Regions from separate parts of the Homo sapiens genome. Here regions 1, 2, 3, 4, 5 and 6 are each linked to region 7. The links are contacts of gene promoters, found by promoter capture Hi-C in blood cells and fetal thymus (Javierre and others, 2016). All regions are on one chromosome and are shown on one strand. Each heading gives the region's core, a stretch centred on a gene start or on the middle of the fragment in contact. The rest is flanking DNA. Distances are from core to core; before and after follow the strand shown. Region 1 has its middle 260 kb from the start of CWC27. Region 2 overlaps CWC27 (CWC27 spliceosome associated cyclophilin). Region 3 overlaps SREK1 (splicing regulatory glutamic acid and lysine rich protein 1). Region 4 overlaps CWC27 (CWC27 spliceosome associated cyclophilin). Region 5 holds the start of LOC401191 (a long non-coding RNA gene). Region 6 overlaps SREK1IP1 (SREK1 interacting protein 1). Region 7 holds the start of TRIM23 (tripartite motif containing 23).

Evidence for each region. Contacts are between HindIII fragments. The CHiCAGO score rates a contact against its expected background, and 5 or more counts as called.
Region 1: a fragment that was not itself captured here is called in contact with the fragment with the promoter of TRIM23 in region 7 in 2 of 17 cell types (total CD8 T cells and naive CD8 T cells); the score reaches 5.2 in total CD8 T cells.
Region 2: a contact is called between a fragment that was not itself captured here and the fragment with the promoter of TRIM23 in region 7, in 10 of 17 cell types (fetal thymus, naive CD8 T cells, activated CD4 T cells and 7 more). The highest score is 11.7, in fetal thymus.
Region 3: a contact is called between a fragment that was not itself captured here and the fragment with the promoter of TRIM23 in region 7, in 12 of 17 cell types (neutrophils, monocytes, naive CD8 T cells and 9 more). The highest score is 13.2, in neutrophils.
Region 4: a contact is called between a fragment that was not itself captured here and the fragment with the promoter of TRIM23 in region 7, in 1 of 17 cell types (naive CD8 T cells). The highest score is 6.1, in naive CD8 T cells.
Region 5: a contact is called between a fragment that was not itself captured here and the fragment with the promoter of TRIM23 in region 7, in 1 of 17 cell types (non-activated CD4 T cells). The highest score is 5.6, in non-activated CD4 T cells.
Region 6: a fragment that was not itself captured here is called in contact with the fragment with the promoter of TRIM23 in region 7 in 3 of 17 cell types (naive CD8 T cells, total CD8 T cells and activated CD4 T cells); the score reaches 5.8 in naive CD8 T cells.

The regions. Positions count from the first base shown.
Region 1 is chr5:65,030,232-65,033,048 of GRCh38, reverse strand. No RefSeq gene overlaps it. Among named protein-coding and RNA genes, the nearest start is that of CWC27, 260 kb to the right of the region's middle. RefSeq lists an enhancer at 217-1,416. The HindIII fragment of the contact is 2,956 bases long and covers 1-2,810 here.
Region 2 is chr5:64,771,571-64,774,395 of GRCh38, reverse strand. All of the region lies in intron 1 of CWC27 (CWC27 spliceosome associated cyclophilin), which reads right to left. Among named protein-coding and RNA genes, the nearest start is that of CWC27, 4.1 kb to the right of the region's middle. The HindIII fragment of the contact is 3,566 bases long and covers 1-2,825 here.
Region 3 is chr5:66,154,779-66,157,478 of GRCh38, reverse strand. The region is part of intron 2 of SREK1 (splicing regulatory glutamic acid and lysine rich protein 1); the gene reads right to left. Among named protein-coding and RNA genes, the nearest start is that of SREK1, 12 kb to the right of the region's middle. The HindIII fragment of the contact is 4,476 bases long and covers 1-2,700 here.
Region 4 is chr5:64,801,794-64,804,548 of GRCh38, reverse strand. CWC27 (CWC27 spliceosome associated cyclophilin) reads right to left here. Exons shown (of 14, transcript NM_005869.4): 10 at 163-320. Among named protein-coding and RNA genes, the nearest start is that of CWC27, 34 kb to the right of the region's middle. The HindIII fragment of the contact is 2,515 bases long and covers 1-2,507 here.
Region 5 is chr5:66,186,516-66,189,249 of GRCh38, reverse strand. LOC401191 (a long non-coding RNA gene) reads right to left here and starts at 2,005. Exons shown (of 5, transcript XR_007058794.1): 1 at 1-2,005. The HindIII fragment of the contact is 4,113 bases long and covers 1-2,734 here.
Region 6 is chr5:64,752,261-64,754,960 of GRCh38, reverse strand. It overlaps SREK1IP1 (SREK1 interacting protein 1), which reads left to right. Exons shown (of 5, transcript NM_173829.4): 2 at 599-646. LOC124900985 (a long non-coding RNA gene) reads left to right here. Exons shown (of 4, transcript XR_007058787.1): 4 at 191-222. Among named protein-coding and RNA genes, the nearest start is that of SREK1IP1, 15 kb to the left of the region's middle. The HindIII fragment of the contact is 267 bases long and covers 1,224-1,490 here.
Region 7 is chr5:65,623,069-65,625,768 of GRCh38, reverse strand. It overlaps TRIM23 (tripartite motif containing 23), which reads left to right and starts at 1,436. Exons shown (of 11, transcript NM_001656.4): 1 at 1,436-1,575. The coding sequence starts at 1,495. TRAPPC13 (trafficking protein particle complex subunit 13) reads right to left here and starts at 742. Exons shown (of 13, transcript NM_024941.4): 1 at 663-742. The coding sequence starts at 708. It overlaps SHLD3 (shieldin complex subunit 3), which reads right to left and starts at 742. Exons shown (of 2, transcript NM_001365341.2): 1 at 663-742. RefSeq lists enhancers at 1,227-1,306, 1,437-1,766. The HindIII fragment of the contact is 4,327 bases long and covers 1-2,700 here.

The DNA.
Region 1 (2,817 bases), core at 83-2,582, 590 kb after region 7:
TGGCAGGGACAGAACTTGAACAAAAGGTTAGAGTGTGAGCTCTTTTGATGTCTGATTTCCCATTTCACAGGCCTGTTTACTTCCAGAAGGGAGTTGAACACAAGTTGAAGAGTTGGAGTGGTGGCGGTGAGAGCAGCTCAGGGAGTAAATGATAGTAATGCTAAAAAATGCAAAGTGCAATTAATTTTAAAACTCACATCTTACATATTTACATTGTTGTTTCAATGTAGTTGCTCATAGTCTGAGATCTTAATAGGTCCATGCCATCTTAATGTCAACCTGAGGATTAGGTAGGAACATAGCAAACAAGGCAGTGGACCTAGGGGTTGATTAGGTTCTAAATCATATTTTAATAAACAACTGTTCATACTTTTCCAGAATCATTTAAAGGGAAACCAGAGTAATCTTGTTAGTACAACCCTCACATTTTAGCAATGTCCTTAAAGTGCTCACCAACTCAGTTTGAGGAGATTGGCAATGACTTGGAAATCATGTCATCCTTGTAATACAGACTTGAGAGTCCAGTGAGGAAAGAGTGAAGGAAATGACAAAGCACCCTTTGGAGGATGACGACAGAAATGTACGCATGAAAATAATCACACCTCAGGGATCTCCGAGGGCCTGCACGCACTACCGATTACTCACCCGTTGTAAGGTCTCCCAGCATTAATCCATCTTGGCAGTAGGAAGAACATTACCAAATGACTACATTGCCTGCTGGCTTCTTCCAGTCTCCTGGCTGGAAAAGCAAATGAGTGAATATTCACTCTGGAAGATGGAATTGTTTCCTGTATAGAGTCTACTTCATGGAGGTTCTTCAGGCAAGTAAACCAGGATATGAAATATTTTTTGTGCACCACATTCTAACAACTTCTGGAGCATCTAAATCCTGTCTTGGAAGCAGTTTCCTTAGGGTTTAACCAGGCATTAAACCAAGGTCAATGACAACCAAGGCCAATGACAACCAAGGCCATTTTCTAGTTGTACAGTAATTCTAGGGGAAAAACTACTTGGTTTTTGAAGGTGCTTTAATGTTTTTAGGTCAATATTTACTTCACTTCCTGCATATAAGGTGGTTGAAGAAAAAGTGCACTTATAAAAAAACAAAATAAAAACAAACCCCCCTCCCCTCCCCATAAGTTTTACTTACCAACAGTAAGAAAAATAGAGGATTAAAGACAAAAAGAGCTGGCATTCATATGTTGGAAGACTTTTTTGAGTGTCACAGATTTTTAAATAGCTGTCTTTTTTTTAGGTGGTTCTTGATGGGATTGTCTGGAGGGAAAAAAGGCCCTGTTATTAAACAAGGCTCAGGAGACATCGAGTGTTTTGGATAGTTAAAGGGAGTAGGGGGTGAGCTACCATGCGCAAGAGAGGTGAGTGTACCATTCCAGCACACTACTAACCCTTGTTAGCATAGAGATTTTCTTTGGAGAAAGACGCTAAATACATTACCCACATTATGCATGAAGAGAGGGTTTACCCAGGAGCTTAAGGCAGGTCATGGACCATATTAGAATGTCATCCAGGAACCCAATGATGCCACAGCCCCGTAAGTCATGAAGACCTCATTCTACAACCTGGAACCATTACCAACCTATAGAAGAGACACTAGCTACTCGTCTAGCCCACAGGGCTGGGAAGAATGTCTGTTCCTCATTTTACTGGGTGGCCGTTGGATTGCAGGATTGGTGAAGAACCATCTTCCCCACAGTGCTTCAGAAAGTTGGGAGCCAGAAGCAGAGGGCTGTAGTTCAGCGATTGTGTGACCAGGGGGTCCTTGCTCCCAGAGCTCCCAAGATGGTGGCGGGCTGCTTGCAAAATGGCCACGGGCCGCTTCCAAACTGGCCGCAGGCCGCTTCCAAGATGGTGGCAAGCCTTGTGTTCTCTGACCTGGGGTTCTTGGGCTCACGGATTCCAAGGAATGGAATCTCGGGCCATGCGGTGAGTATTACAGCTCTATTAGAAGCCATGGGTCACGGAAGAGAACTGTGGAACCAAGTGACTAGTGTTCAGCTCCATTAGGGCGAACCCAGGCACTTAGCTGTGCAGGAATAAGGGCAAGCCTTTAGCCTGATCAGGAGCGGCAATGGGTACCTCACTGGATCAGGAGCACAGCGGACTCCCTGCTGGATCTGGACGGATGGAAGTCAGTGGCGGGTCTGCAGTGGCCGGAAACGGCAGTGGTGGATGGCGAGCGAAAGCTCAGCTCCAGCCCTAACAAACACGGACTGGAAGAGAGTGCAGTTGCAAGATTTAATAGAGTGAAAGCAGAGCTCCCATACAAAGGGAGGGACCCAAAGAGGGTAGCCGTTGCTGGCTCGAATGCCTGGGTTTATATCCTGATCATTGTCCCTCCTGCTGTGCTCTCAGGCAACAGATGATTGGCTATTTCTTTACCTCCTGTTTTTGCCTAATTAGCTTTTTAGTGAGCTCTCCTTACTACCTGATTGGTCGGGTGTGAGCTAAGTTGCAAGCCCCGTGTTTAAAGGTGGATGTGGTCACCTTCCCAGCTAGGCTTAGGGATTCTTAGTTGGCCTAGAAAATCCAGCTAGCCCTGTCTCTCAATTGCAGTGAGGACTCTTTAGTTCCTATGGAGTCTGACTTCTAGGTCTTTTTTAGGAACAAGCCATGGGCCTCTGCAGATGACATGGAACAACATATGGCTCAAGTCACAGATTATGTCACTAAGTCTGGAGGGCTGTGCCCTAAGTTTTTACAGGAAGGCAAGTATTTGACTGGAATCTTCACTGTGGGAAACAGTTAAGTGGTACAAGTTAAGGCATGTGGAAAAGACAGCATCTGAAGCTTCCACTA
Region 2 (2,825 bases), core at 177-2,676, 850 kb after region 7:
AAAGTGAGTTCACTTGAGGCTAGGAGTTCAAGAACAGCTTCGGCAACACAGACAGACCCTGTCTCTAAGAAAATTTGTTTTAATTAGCCAGGCATGGTGGTGTTCCATGCTATTTGGGAGGCCGAGTTGAGAGGATCACTTGAGCCTGGGAATCTGAAGTAATAGTGAGCTATGATCATGCCACTATATTCCAGCCTGGATGACAGAGCAAGACCCTGTCTCAAAATAAAATAAAACATGACAAAACCCCAATAATGCAAATTTGTTATAATTGAGTTTCCCATTGCATCAATTCCAATAAAACTGTGTAGCAAATTAAGAAATTAAAGAATAATGAACCCATTAAATTGTGACATTATAGGACAATTTTATAATTACCCTTTTTAATTACCTTTTACTCTCTCTGCTCATTTAACATCATGCTATTCCTAATTTACAAAGGAACATTCTTAATCTAATTCTGGCTTGTGATTTACTAAAATACTATGTCTTAAAATCACCTTCTATAGTAAATAGAATCCCGTGATAGCCTTTCCACCAGCTCATAACAGCAGATACTCCTTGGTAGAACCAGAAACTTTGCAACTAGAACCCCTCCCTGCTGGGCCCACAGGAAACAGTTTATAACTGTCTTATTTATAACCACAAATAACCAAAAAGAATGTTAGGCTCTAAATTTGAACATTGTGGCATAGCTGGAAACCAATTTCTCCAGTATTACTTCTTCTTTTTTCTCCCCTAGTATACCAAAGTAGATCAGTGTCAATAATTTGTGACCATCACAATCTTTTAGAATGCTCTTTCAAGTAAAGAGTATGCAATATAACTGTTCAAAAACATGAGGCTGTTTCTCATAGGTCAGTATCATCAATGCTAAGTCACATTTCACCACCCTAAAAAGAAACCCTGTACTCATTAGCAGTCACTCCCTATTTACCCCTACTCCTACTCTCTGGCAGCCACTAATCTACTTTCTGTCTGTGTAGATTTGCCTATTAAACATTTCATATAAACAGAATCATACAATATGTGGCCTTTTGTGTCTGGCTTCTTTTACTTAGCATAATGTTGCTTTCAAATTATATAGGGGTCTTTCAGTTCTACACATCTAGTTTTTAAATGTCTTGAAAATCACAATGACTTTATACTCTTACTGGTAAATATTTCAAGACACAATATATATTTAAGGCAAAGTTCACCATTGAAAACAATAAATAGAAATCCATATTTCCAATGGTCTTCATAATAATTTCTGATTTTTTTGACAGACTTCCCATGCTGAGGTATCAGCTCTATCATGTTCTTATGATTTGCTTGTTTATATTATTAATAATATCTTCAATAAGAAATTTGTGATGGCTGGTTTAGTTAATCTAAATACTATGGTCTATAAATCTATTTGGCTAGTCGTTATGAAAAATTACACCACAATGCCAAAAAAGTGCCTTTTTTTTTTTTTGAGACAGAGTCTCACCCCGTTGCGCAGGCTGGAGTGCAACGGCACGATCTCGGCTCACTGCAACCTCTGCTTCCCGGGTTCAAGCAATTCTCCTGCCTCAGCCTCCCGAGTAGCTGGGACTACAGGCACCCACCGCCACACCCAGCTAATTTTTTGTATCTTTAGTAGAGACGGGGTTTCACCATGTTGGCCAGGCTGGTCTCGAGCTCCTGATCTCATGATCCGCCCGCCTCAGCCTCCCAAAGTGCTGGGATTACAGGCATGAGCCACTGCGCCTGGACTTTTTTTTTTTTTTTTTTTTTTTTTTTTTTTGAGACAGAGTCTCACTGTCTCCCAGACCCGAGTGCAGTGGTGTGATCTCAGTTCACTGCAACCTCCACTTCCTTGGTTCAAGCAATTCCCCTGCCTTAGCCTCCTGAGTAGCTGGGATTACAGGCTCACAACATCATGCCCGGCTACTTTTTTTGCATTTTTTTTAGTAGAGACAGGGTTTCACCCTGTTGGCCAGATTGGTCTTGAACTCCTGACCTCAGGCAATCTGCCATAGTCTCCCAAAGTGCTGGGATTATAGGCATGAGCCACTGCACCCAGTCATCATCTTTTTATATATATTAAATAATGAATTTAAACAAAGGAAAAAAATACAAATATATATAGATTTTCTCCCCACAGCTCATGGATGGTTTTGCACACCCACTGAAGTATGCACTCACTGGTTTAGAAACCACTGCTCTAATGAACACACTAATTACATCATCCCTCCCTCCACAGGCTCTGGAATCAGGATGCCCAAATTCAAATACTGGCCCTTCCATTTACTAGCTTTGTTACCTTGCGCACACTATCTGACATCTCTGTCACTTAATTTCCTAATCTAAAAACGGGATAATAATATCTTTTAGGATTTCTGTGAGGACAAAATGAGCTGTAATACATAGACTGCTTAGAAAAGTAAATGACAAATAATAAGTGCTCAAAAAATGATAGTCATTATTACGTGGTTTTTTGGCCACAGGCAACTTACACCTAGTAAAAAGAATGCATATATAATCGGGCCACTTTGCTCACCAGGGTTTCTTAATCTTTTCATTAATAAGCTACTGAATTAATAAAGAAGGTATATGGCTCCTTCCTCCTCTGGCCATACATTCTCTTTGGTCATCACTACTTTGTAGGCCTCCTTGGCTCTTTCTCTTAAAATTCCCAATTAATACCTTGATAATATCATGTTTCTTATAAACATATATGCAAATATACTTATAAAGCCATTTTGATTTTCAAGATATTTAAAAACTAAGTGTGTACAACAGGAAGACAGACCCCTATCATTTGAAAGCAACATTACACTAAGTGAAGAAGCCAGACA
Region 3 (2,700 bases), core at 130-2,629, 530 kb before region 7:
TGATAAATTGAGGTTTTGAGGCAGAAACTCCATCGTCACTACCTTAATGTATGCACCTAAGGAAACTCAGAGTTCTAATCTAGTAATGTCCCAAATTTAATATTACTTGTCCTTTAATAAGTAAAACTACCTATTGAAGACATTGTAGAAAGACTATACAAACAAAAAGGGTATTCAACACTGGCCAAAAGTTGACTACTTAGTATTATGAAGTCTTTCACTTTCAGCTTAAGTATCAGTAGGTTGTCAAACTCTCCCACTGCCTTTCAAAAGAGTATACTACTATAAATATAGTATACTACTATAAATGTATAAATCCACTATAAGCACATTTTTTAATAAATTAACTTTCAATTACCATTCTAATTACTCTATATACTTATTCTAATTACCTAAAGGTAATGGCAAAAGTACTTTAAGAAAAAGCTCCATTGCTTAATTTCCAAGATAGAATTCTACCAAATTTACCCTCCAAATAACAGAGCTTATAAAAGTATAAAACAAATAAGCATTTAGCATTTTTCCCAAACTATACTCCTCAAAGTCAACTGAGGAAAACATCTCTCACAGTATTATAGTCCTAATCTCAGAATCCATTTAGAAGCTAGTAACCTCTGAAAAATATTCAACAAAAAATTCAAGCTAACAAAAACCTACATGCAAATACTTAAGTTTCTCAAATATCCATTCCCCACATAGGCAACAAAAAGTCTTCATAAGTCAAGGAAATAAGTTATATGATAAATAACCATCATAAAAATGAAAGGCTCTTCTTTACTCCCAGATTGTTATATTTACTTATTTTCCTTGATGATTTTGTATGCCTAAAATTCCAGGGGGAAGGACAAAAATTAGAAGCTATCAGTTTTTATGAGAGATGTAGACTAGGGGGGAAAAAAACTAGAAAAATGTTGCGCTGAGATCAGAAAGTGTTCCTGAGATACTTATCAGTGTTTTAATGTTTCAAGAATAAAATGTACCTTATGAGTCCATACACACAAATTAAGACTCACAATGAGCTTCACAACACTGTATCCTAATTTACCACATGAAAATTTGCTTTATCTTAAGGTTGAGCTCTACTAATCATCTCCCAATATAATTTGCAACACGTTATGAACCCTTAATGAAATACCATTTACAAAGAACTGGGAAAACCAGCTCACAAGTTAAAGTGAAAGAGATTTAACAAAACAAAAACAAAAACAAAAACAAAAAAAGGGACAAAATAAAGAAAAAGAAATGAAATTAAAGTAAAACAATAAAAAACAGAGACAGGGCGTCCATCTTCTGCGGTTCAGACTCCGATCTCATTTCCCCAATGAAGGTTTCACTTGACGGCAGGTTTAGTGGCATGGCAAACAATGCCTAACTCAGGCAAGTGTAACAGGTCTGCCTTGGCCAGTCTAGTCATCTAATAATGCACAAATATCACATAGAGAAAACATACAAAACCAAATTAATAGTCAAAATCCATCTACCAGAAAATGTGGACATAAAGTTATGACTGATGATTAGGCTGACACCCTTGTTATGTTTGACCGTATCTTTTTCTACGTGTTAACATTTATAAAAAGAAATCTGAAATGCACGCAACAACAAAAAGAGGTCATATTTGGACAAGTATAATGAAAGCATATTTTATTTTGAAATGGCATGTTTTATTAACAAAGGCTAAGGCTTAATATGCATGAAACTGTTACACATCAAATGTTACTTTTACAACTTAGGATCTTCTCACATTACTGTCTACACTAAAAAACAGCAATTCAAAGAAACTGAAAAAACTTCTTAAATTTTTTTCTATGGTTTTTCTCACTTATGTCATGATGCTGTTTGTTCAACATCAAGGAAAGGATGCATTCAGTGAGGTCAACAGAACACTGCTTGCTTACAGCACCACAGCACATCTCCTCTTACAGAACTTACTCCACTGGAATACTTTTCTTTGGTTATTTCACACTCACTCTGCTATCTTTTTTAGTACAATAATGCACTATTTCTTTGCTTGTAGTGCATAATCAGTATTTTAACAGCTCACTGTGAAATTCTCGAGGTTCCATAAATTCATCTCTGCCGTATTTAATACAACTAATGAAAAACGTATATCTGAATGTTTCACCAATACCAACTGTAGGTTAGTGTTTCAAAATATTTACTTACTTATAACTAAATTGCAATAAAAGTATGCTTAAATTTTTCTGTTCAAAAACAGTAAAACTGTCCAAGTTGTAATATTAAAAACACTAAAAAGGTACATCTGACTGTGCATTTATTCATCTCTATCAAGTAAAATAAACAATAAAAGGGACATCTACACGCCCATCATCTTGAACATTTATAACAAAATACAGTAGGGCTTCTCAGATATATGAAAGATTCTATGGGAATAAAGCAGGTTTCAACCAAGCAACACTGATAAAATTCTTCCTTCCAATTCAGTAATAAGCTAACACAATAAAAGACCCAGTGTTATTGGTGGTATTAATTTTCTGATATAATTAATATTCCAGTTTAATAAACCTTTTACCTGATTTCTTTTTTCCCATGCAGTTTCTCAGTATGAAATTTCACTACAAAGTTTGTAGAACGAAACCATTCACCAGCTCCTTTCCCACCTCACCAATTTGGGGCTTACTGTAGCCTTACAGATCAGCAGATAAAGATACATTTGGCCAATAATTAACTTTAATCCATTTT
Region 4 (2,755 bases), core at 1-2,500, 820 kb after region 7:
TTTATTTTAGGCCTGCTAATGGGCCAATTTGTACAACTGTTATGTTTATCAAACATTATGAAAATAGTATTTTAAAAATTAGCTGAAGAGAGGATTCAATCTGAATTAAAGTGAAATATAAAAAGACAAAAACTCTGATATCTAGCACAGTAACTGACTCACCTGCGGCTGACTGATTTCTTCTCCACTTCTCCTTCTCCAGCTGATTTAACATTCGCACTTGTGTCCTTTTTTAATTTTTTGGCAATTCTTTCTCTCATCAGGTTCTTTTCATCACCATCAATATATTCATCATGCTCTGCACTTTCATCTTCTCCATCCTGTAGAAATGGAAAATGAGTATTTGCCAGGTGCTCAATTTCCCCTTTCATTTCTAGAGATCTATTGCATCCACTGAATCTCCTTATTGCATTCTAAACTAGGTTTTTTTTTTTATTTTGTTTTCTTTTGTTTTGAATTATAAGCCCTTGAAGAATCTGCTACAGGTGGGAATAGCCCTGGGTTCTGCTCTAAGCCAACTATGTAATTATGGGATACCCCAGGAAAGGCTGTTCGCTCAACTCATGCCCAGCTCCTTTGTGCAGCAGACTTCTCCCTCTGTGTCACTCGGGCTATTCTGTCTATATTCCTATTCTTATCTCAGTGGGAAATGTGGCTTTTGAAGGCAGTTGGCCAGCATACTGACCTCAACAGGGATCAATTCAAGTAGAAGAGGTGTAGTGCAGAAGCTGAGATTTCTATAATCCAAGTCACAGCAATCACTTCTCTTGTGAAAACCCTCTAGTGGGTCCCCAACTCACTCAAGGCCCTATGCAATCTAAACCTCCCTGACATAATCTCCTACAACTCCAGCCCACCAACACTAGCCAACTTTGGAGTTGTTGTTCTCTCCAGCCTGAAACAAATACTCTATTCCAGATATCTCTTCATTGCTTGCTCTTTCATCTCCTTCAGATCTTTGCTCAAATGTTACCCTCTTGGTGATGAGATTAACCTATTAAAATGGTAGAACCACACACTTACCTCCAGTACTCTTTCATCTTCCCTGGCTTATTTTCCAAAGTACTTATCACCTATCTGATACACCATATATTTTAATTATTTGCATGTGTATTGTCTGTCATCCAATTACAGCAAACACTCCATGAGAGCTAAAATTCTGGCCTGTTTTGCTTACTGCTGTATCTTCAACTCCTAGAATAGTGCCCAGCATTGACAGATGGAGGAACAAAGGGAAGAAAGAGGGGAGAGAAGAAGGAAGAAATAACCCCAAGTGGATCATTTTTCTTTTGTGATTCTTTCTTTGATCTGGTGAGTCGTAGTGAAGCAGGATTCTTAATTTGAGACTTGTGGACCCCTAAAGCACTGGTCCTCAAAGTCTGGTCCTTAGATGGTATTACATAGTTGTTTATTAACACCTAAAATTCTAGCCCTCATTGCAGACTTATTGAACCAAAATCTCTGGGGTAGGAATTACGAATGTTTTCAACAAGATGTTTAAGTAATTCTTAAGCACTAAAAGGTGACAACCACCAACCTAGGCCTTCCATGCTCAGGCCTCAGGAGATCTAAAAAAAATTCCCTGCAAATTCATATAATTTTGGTTGTGAATGTAGTACATTTTCCTGGGAAAGGATTCACAGTTTTAGTCACTCACCCATGATATTAAGAGCAAATCTATACTTTTACTTTCTATCCTATACATTGATCCTAACTTCTAGACCCATATTATGTTACACAGATGTCTCCAAATTACCTCAATCTTGAAATGTATAAAATTAAGCTCATTATTTTTCATCCTTTTCTCCACCTCAACCCTATGCTTTCTTTTGCACCCATCTAACAAGTTGCTCAAACCAGAAACCTTGTGGTTGTCTTGGACTACTCCTCCCTCACCTCATAGTGTAGAATCAGTCACCTCCTAGACCTCTTTCAAATCTACCTCTTTCCCATCTCACAGCTGTGGTCTTATATCAAGCTCTCCTCCTACAATAGCTTCCCAGTATCAGTCTGTTTCCTCTAATTTGTCCTCTATAATATCGCCAATAGTGATCTTCCTGAAATGCAAAATTGATCATAGCATCCTTCTTTTTAACAAACACCTTTCAACTGTTCCTCACTTCCTTTTAGGAAAAAACTCAAACCCCTCACCATGGCCTATGAAGCTCTGTAATGAAGCTCTGGCCTGTCACCACACCCTGTTCACGCTGGCCTGCTTGCAGCTCTTAGAACACACCAAACTCTCCTGCTTCGGACCATTTTGTATATGCAGTTCCCCTTACCTTCAATACTCTTCTTCCTTGCTCTTCACAAGACAGACTCCTTGAAACTTTAAATTTCCGTTTGTATTTCCTAAATAAGGTATGATCTCTCCTTATTTCCATGCTTTAGCATATGCTATTCTCTGAGCTAGAGGGACCTCACCCCCTTCATCACTTTCTTTTCTGACTTAGCTAACTCCTAACTCTCATATAAGACATAAATAGCATCATCTCTTCCAGGAAGCTTTTCTTGACAAGGTCAGATATTCATCCTCTCTCTATCTACTACTGATAGCCATAGAGAGCCTTCTCTTTTGACTGTGATAATAGATAAATCTGTGTTCATGCATGGAAAGTTATGTACTTCCTAGTAAATTATACAATGCACAGATTAATGGGTTTTTATATAAAAAGTGGCATATGTATAATTTGAAAAACTTGACTCTTATGTATTAAAGGAAAATCTTCCTTCTGTTTTGTTAGCTTTGTTAGCC
Region 5 (2,734 bases), core at 64-2,563, 560 kb before region 7:
ATTTGGACACTAATTAACACACATTTCAATAACCCATGGATCAAAGACAAAATCTAAGGGAAAATTATGAAGTATTTTGAACTCAATGAAAATGAAAATACAACACAGCAAAATTTGTTAGAATACAGCTAAAGTAGTGCTTTGAAGGAAATGTATAGCACTAAATACATATATTAAAAAAGAAAGGTCTGAAGTCAGTGACTCCTGTTCACACCTTAAACTAGAAAAAGAGGGCAAACTAAATCCAAAAGAAGAAAAAGAAAATAAATAATGAAGAGCAGAAATCAGTGAACTAAAAAAGAAAAATTGATGACAGTGAAATCTGATTTGAGAAAATAAATTGATAAACCTCTAGCTTGACTGATCAGAATAAAAAGAAGGAAGACACAAGTTAACGATATTATGAGTGAGAGAGGACATCGGTATAGATCTTATATGTATTAAAAGGTCGTAAGGAAGTATGAATAACTTCATGGCAATAAAGTTGACAACTTAGATAAAATAGACAAATTTCATTAAAGATACACAACATCAATGCTCATTTAAGAATAAATAAACAAGGGCCAAGCATGGGGATGTGTGCATGTAGTCCCAACTACTCAGGAGGCTGAAGGAGGAGGATCTCTTGAGCTCAGGAGTTTGAGACCAGCCTGGGCCACATAGTGAGACCCCAACTCTAAAACAAAACAAAACAAAACAAATAAACCCTAAGAATAAATAGCTTGAATAACTCTAAATCTAGTTTTAACACTGAATTTGTAGTGTGAAAGACTATTCCAGGCTCAGGTTGGCTTTTTTGAGGTATTCTACCTTAACAATTTGACACAAATTCCTTCAGAAAAGTGAAGAGGAGGGAATTACTTTCCAACTCATTCTATTAGGCAAGCATGCCCCTTATACCAAAACCAGAATGAAATTACAAAAAAACTCAGACCAATTTAAATACATTTAATCAAGTGGCAACATACGTTGAAATGAATTTGAAAAAGGTCTGGGGTTGCAAGACCAATTAGTAGGCTACAGAAGCAGACTAAAAGGAAAATGACAATTCTAATACTACAGTTACTTTTCTGCTAGAGTGATTCTATTCCATGTAACTAAAATCATACAAGGGCATACTTAAGATATTTCAGAGGAAATGCACAATTGGGAGGACTTAGCAGATGTGACTGAGGGTGGGAACAAGATGGAAGTTGCAGGCATTCTCAGGGATATTAGGGGTTCAGTTCCAGGCCACCATAATAAGGTGAGTATCACAATAAAGCAAGTCACATAAATTCTTTGGTTTCCCAGTGCATTTAAAAGTTATGTTTTATAACTATGGCCTATTGAGTGTGCAATACCATTATATCTAAAAAAGTGTACATACCTTAATTTAAAATACTGCTTAAAAAATGCTAGCGATTGTCTAAGCCTTCAGTGGGTCATAATCTTTTTGCTGGTAGAGGGTCTTGCCTTGATGTTGATAACTGCTAATCAGGGTTGTGATTGGTGAAGGCTGAGGTAAACGTAGCAATTTCTTAAAATAATAAAGTTTGCCACATCGATTGACTCTTCCTTTCACAGATTTCTCTGTAGCATGGGATGCTGTCTGACAGCATTTTACCCATGTAGTACTTTTAAAATTGGAGTCAATCCTTTCAAACCCTGCCACTGCTTTATCAATTAAGTAATATTCTAAATCCTTTGTGGTCATTTCAACAGCATTCATAGCATCTTCACCAGGAGTAGATTACATCTCAAGGAGCCACTTTCTTTGCTCATCCATAAGAAGCAACTCCTCATCTCTTCAAGTTCTATCATGAGATTGCAGCAATTCAGTCACATCTTCAGGTTCCACTTTTAATTCTAGTTCTCTATTTCTACATCTGCAGTGAAGTCCTTCACTGAAGTCTTAAGCCCCTCAAAGCCATCCATGAGGGCTGGAAGCAACTACTTCCAAGCTCCTCTTGATGTTGCTTTTTATTTTTATTTATTTATTTATTTTTAAGACAGTTTCCCTCTGTTGCCCAGGCTGGAGTGTAATGGCGCAATCACAGCTCACTGCAACCTCCACCTCCCAAGCTCAAGCAATTCTTGTGCCTCAGCCTCCTGTGTAGCTGGGATTACAGACATGCACCCATCATGTCTGGCTAATTTTTGTATTTTAGTAGAGATGGGCTTTTGCCATGTTGGCCAGGCTGGTCTCAAACTCCTGACCTCAACTGATACACCCTCCTCAGCCTCCCAACATGCTAGGATTACAGGCGTGAGCCACCCCGCCTGGCCTCATGTTGTTATTTTGTTCTCTTCCCATGAATAACAAATGTTAATGGCATCTGGAATGGTAACTCTTTTCTAGGTTTCCAATGTACTTTGCCCAGATCCATCGGAGGAATCACAATCTATGACAGCTATAGCCTTATGAAATGTATTTCTTAAATAATAAGACTAGAAAGTCAAAATTACTCCTTGATCCACGGGCTACAGAATGAATATCGTTTGTACAGGCATGAAAGCATTAATCTCCTTGTACATCTCCATCAGAGCTCTTGGGCAACCAGGAGATTGTCAAGGAACAGTAATATTCTGAAAGGAATTTGTTTTTTTAGCAATAGGTCTCAAAACTGGATTTAAAATAGTAAATCATGCTGTGAACAGATGTGTTGTTATCTAGACCTTGTTCCGTTTATAAAGCACAGGCAGAATACATTCAGCACAATTCTTAAGGACTCTAGGATTTTCAGAATGATAA
Region 6 (2,700 bases), core at 108-2,607, 870 kb after region 7:
TTTTTTTTATGTTTGTTAGCCATATGTGTTTGTCTTATTTTATTATATTGAATTAGAAAAAAATGTTATTGATGTATTTGTCAAATAATTTGAGTAAATTGGCCTTTCTGTTGATTTATAAGAGTCATATAATTGAGTAGGTCATTAAGCTGGGTCAGAGATGATTTTTTGTTGTTGCTGTTTCTTAAAGAAATAAATTCTACTGGGTGCGGTGGCTCTTACCTACAATCCCAGCACCTTGAGAGGCCAGAGGAGGATCGCTTGAGGCCAGAAGTTTGAGATCGCCTGGGCAACAAAGCACAACCTCATCTCTGCAAAAAAATTTAAAAGTTAGCCAGGTGTGGTGGCACATGCCTGTAGTCTCAGCTGCTTGGGAGGCTAAGGTAGGAGGATCGCCTGAGCCAGGAGCTGGAGGCTGTAGTGAGCTGTGATCATGTCAGTGTACTCTAGCCTTGGTGACAGAGTGACACCTTGTCTCAACAACAAAAAAAAAGAAATTCTATAACAAATGGTTTTTCTTAGCTTTTTTCATACAATAAAGTTTTTAAGTTTTCGCATATTTATTTACTTCCTAAAATTCTATCCAATTGTATTTCAGGTTGCAACAAGGACAGTGTCAGAGCAGGCTGTAAAAAATGTGGCTACCGTAAGTATTCTAAAAGATGACATGCTTTGCATTATTCATACTGGAATCATGGCCTCTTTGGGCAATATAATGTAGCACCCTGATTTCAGGGGCCCAGTTGCATAGTCCTTTAGCCCTAAGCTAACATCTAGTTACAGAAATTCCTCTGTTAGCACTAAATATTCACTTTTCTTCCCTGCTTTAGACCCAGTAACAGGTAGCTATGTATCTGATGACTACCAAAAGTAGCATGAAGATACAGGTGGTTAGTAGTAGATTAAGGAGTTTGGAGAAAGTATATTTTTTAAAAACTATATACATACTTATTCTTTTCCCCCTTTCCACATACTAGGAGAAAAAGTGAAGGCAATGCAAACTATTTATGAAGATTTTTTGTGTTTATTACATTTACTTTAAAGATTCAATTGGTCTCAGAATTTCTGCTCATGGGCGAAAACTTGATTTAAACAATTATTAATCTCCATTATGATTAAGTGAGTGAAAAGGTAAACTTAAGCATGTGTAATTATAAATATAAATTTGTAATTTTATACTGTAAGTAAATATTCTTTAGTTAAATATAGTAATGCCTAAAGCTTTAGTAACAGCTATAGCAACAACATTTGCTATTTTCTAAGTTGTTTGCAGACCGTGTGAATTAGCCTGGATTGTTAATACATTCCAATTCATTGAAGAGTTATTAAGTTTTACCAACTAAGAATGATTTGACAAAAAGATGTTCATGCAAGAACATGTGATAAGAGAGTACTCGGCATAAATCTCCATCAGAAGGGCACATTAAAAGAATGCTGAGAGAACAAGTCGCATACTTCCAAGCAAAGCTAAAACTGGCTCAAGGGAAGCTTGCTCAAGTAGCAAAATTGCATATATAACTATATATATCACTCACATAAATGAAAACTGAAGAATGTACTTGCACGCAAGAAATGAGTGCAATGAAATCTTTTCTATTTTTAAATTTGTTTATATTTCTACTTGTTTGCTTTCTTTCAAGCATTGCTAACTTTGTTTACTTTCTTTTAATCATTGCTGACTTACCTGCCTCATTTCTTTATTCAAGAATTAAGAACCTACAAATGCTTCATTTACTTCAAAATCTGGAATGGATTTCCCAGTCTGTCTACTAATATCAGTCTCTATACTTGGACTTCTTTTAACCTAACACTTTGAGGAAAGCAATTAAATTCATTTTCTGGAAATAAAATATTTGTTGATGTAGTCTCCTCATTGTTATTTTATTTAAGACAACAATGGAAGTATCTGCAGTAATTAGAATTCTTTAGGAGAAGCCAAGTCAGCAAATCGTTTTGTCAATATTTCCGTATTTAGTTATTTTTGCTTTATTATTTAGATCTTTGATTTTAGTGATTTAGTTGTTAAACAATTTCTGATTTGTCTCCTGTGGAAAAATTTAGTCATATTTCCCTTCTGTGTTAAATTTACATCTCCACAGCTATTAAAGATGAAGGTCTTCTCAATTTACAAGTCTTTCTAATAGAAATTTCATTTACAAATTAGCTTATCTTTTATTTGGGGGCCAGAATTTTTGTATTGCTTGTATAAAGGTAAGAGAAAGGTCAAGAAGATGATTTGAAATACTTTTAATTCCCAAAAATATGGGTATTTTTCAATTGTTTACAAAAGAATATTCTCTCTCTTTTGTTGCAAAAATAGTTGTTCAGATTGTACAATTTAAAGAATTTCAATACTTGATAGAAAAAGAGCTTATTTCTCAGTATATTTCAATAGTGAATATATTGTTTTTTAAAGTTTTGAGTTAAGTTTGAATATATTATTAAATAACATGGGTCTCTCTTTCTGTGGCAGAATTTCCTTAGCAAAATTAACTTAAAAGAAATTCACAGGCCAGGCATGGTGGCTCACGCCTGTAATCCCAGCACTTTGGGAGGCCAAGGTGGGTGGATCACGAGGTCAGGAGATCGAGACCATCCTAGGTAACCCGATGAAACCCCGTCTCTACTAAAAATACAAAAAATTAGCCGGACGTGGTGGCGGGCGCCTGTAGTCCCAGCTACTTGGGAGGCTGAGACAGG
Region 7 (2,700 bases), core at 187-2,686:
TCAAATAAAAGGTTTCCAGAAAATAGGCATTAAAAAAATTGTCCTAAAAAAAAAAGTGCTGCTGTTTTTTCCTAAATAATGATCTAATTAAATCACCAAACTTACTCAAAATGGCTGTGTACAAAAAATGAGAGTTGACATTAGATCTCGGACATATTTCCCACATACACAGTGATTTGAAGTAAACTGCAGTTTGTTTTGAATAAATCTAAGTTATATGTTGTATTACTATGTATTGCTAAATTCTCTGCACTACTGTCATGCAATACTAATTTTACAGGGGAAGCTGAAGCCTGATTAACTTCGTCAGTGCCACAGGAAGAAACAAGAGACAGAAGGAAAAAGCACTTTGGATGCCCGCTGTAATTCACAGAGATCTCCACGGTAGGAGCGGGACGTCAGCTTCTGCGGCTAAAATCTCGTGACTGAAGCAGCACAGATCAGAAAGAACGATTTACCAGGTATCTATTTCGTTCTAGAAAGGGGCCCATAAACCTAAAAAGCATCCAGGAGAAATCGCTTCCTCCCGCTTGGCGGCAAAGGACAGAGCAGGAGGGCGAGCACTGAGTGTTTAAGAAGGATGAGGCCTACATGGCAAAGGCTTCGATAAGTAGGGAATGCAAGGAAACAGAAAAGGGGGAATCAGGTTCGCAAAAGTTTACCTTTTAGCGCCAGCAGGTGCTCCTGTTTAGGGGGATTCACTTCCATTTTGACCGGCACTTTTGACCCACAGCCTACGGGGGCTGGACAGGTTCAACTTGCCCCGGAAGGAAACGGAAAACCTCGCGTTTGGCAAAACCAAAAGTCAAACGCACTCTCAACCTCTCTCTGGTGGTGGTACCTTAAATTCTCCTACTGTGTCCTTTACAAACTGGCTTCTTTTCAACAAGTCCATTTCTTCTATCTTAGAAACGTAGGCATAAAATACTTTGTTTTCCATCTGCAATCACACATCGCGACTGCAGGAAAAGAAACCACCCCTAGGTAACAATACGCGGCCTCCCAAAGGCCAACGTTGCCGGAGTTTTTTTTTTAAAAAAAAAAAAAAAAAAAAAAAAGAGAGAGAGAGAGAGTGGCATGCTGGGATTTGTAGTTTATACAAAAACCGCGTTGCATGCAGGGAGATGCCCGTACCCCCTCACCGCCCTCAGTTCACGCCCTGGCTGGTTTGGATTCGAGAGGAAAAATCATTAAAGGATCTGGAGTTTTCACCCCAAAACTTTAATCGTTTTGTCCCTTCTTTTTTTTTCTTGTCTTTCCTCCAGCAGCTGCAGACTACATAATGAAAAATAACAAAAGTGCCCATGCGCGAGGCTGTGCAACTAACCACCCGACGATTGCGGGGAGGAGGAGTAAGAGTCGGCTAAGCGGCGCCCAGTGTCCTACTGCGCCTGTGCGCCGGTGGCGTGCGCAGAGGCCTCTGGGTAGGTGGCTCAACCCCGCCTCTCAGTTGAGGACTCTGAAGGCTGTTTCTGTGGCGCTTCCCCTGCGAGGATGGCTACCCTGGTTGTAAACAAGCTCGGAGCGGGAGTAGACAGTGGCCGGCAGGGCAGCCGGGGGACAGCTGTAGTGAAGGTGAGGGACCTTGCGTGCTCTATTCTCCACCATCGGCCTCCCTTCGGTTCATCCTGGAGACCTGGCGGCATCGCCGCGGCCCAGGCTTCGATAGGTGGGATGCGCGGCCTCTGGGCCCCTTTTGGCATTACAAGTCTCGTCCTGTCCTCTGCATCCTTTCTCTCCTATGGCCTGAAATTGCCTGGTCTTCTGCTCATGACATGTCATCATCGGGACATTTGTGAAAAGGAGCTTGCGGGCCAGTGGCAGTGACCTAGACCGGTCTTTTCTCCAGGTCCTCTGCTTTTAGTTAAACTCAACAGACATTAATTAGCTTAGTATTATAAATTGAGTCATCATCATCGTAACTACGTACTAAGTTAGGTGTTTTAGCTCGTTAATATCTACTTATGAAGTAGATGTGAATTCCCATTTTACAGGGAGGAAACCCAGGTTTAGGTAAACAGTGTGTGGCAGAGCCCCGGGTTGACCGGCTTTAAAGTCTGTACTTTTCGCTCTTGTACTGCGTCTGTAATCAGACATCTGTTATTGGGTGAGCTGCCCCCTCCCCTGTTAGTAGTACAGTCTATTAACTCTTTGCACAAGTCTGCAGCATCGTCATAGCTGGGCATTAACGATAGAGTTTATGAATTTTCTTATGCTTGAAGTTTGAGATTCTACCATGTATACATGCTCCAGAATCAATTTGCTAAAAAATCATTTGAAATATGTGGCACTCATTTTTCCCTTCCACTGTTGTGCACGGAAAGATATGGAGGGGAGAACTGATCCCATTGGTTTATAGAGTAACCTTCAGGAGCATCTCTAATCTAAGAGATTGATAATTCTCATTCCTGGCTACATATTAGGATCACTGAGGAGTTTTAGTACACTACTGATGCACTCCTCCTCCAGTTCTGATGAGGTTGACATCAGTATATTTTAGGAATTACCAGAAGTTATTTTAATGTGCAACCAGGGTTATGAATTACTGATCAAGGTAATATATGAAGTTTTTTTCACATCTTGAAAAGTAGACACCTATGATTATTCAGGTAATGTTGGTTTTATATGACAGCAAATGAGACATTTCTTCCCACAATTTAGTATCAGTGAATATTGGTGGTTGTTGATTCAGATGACCTT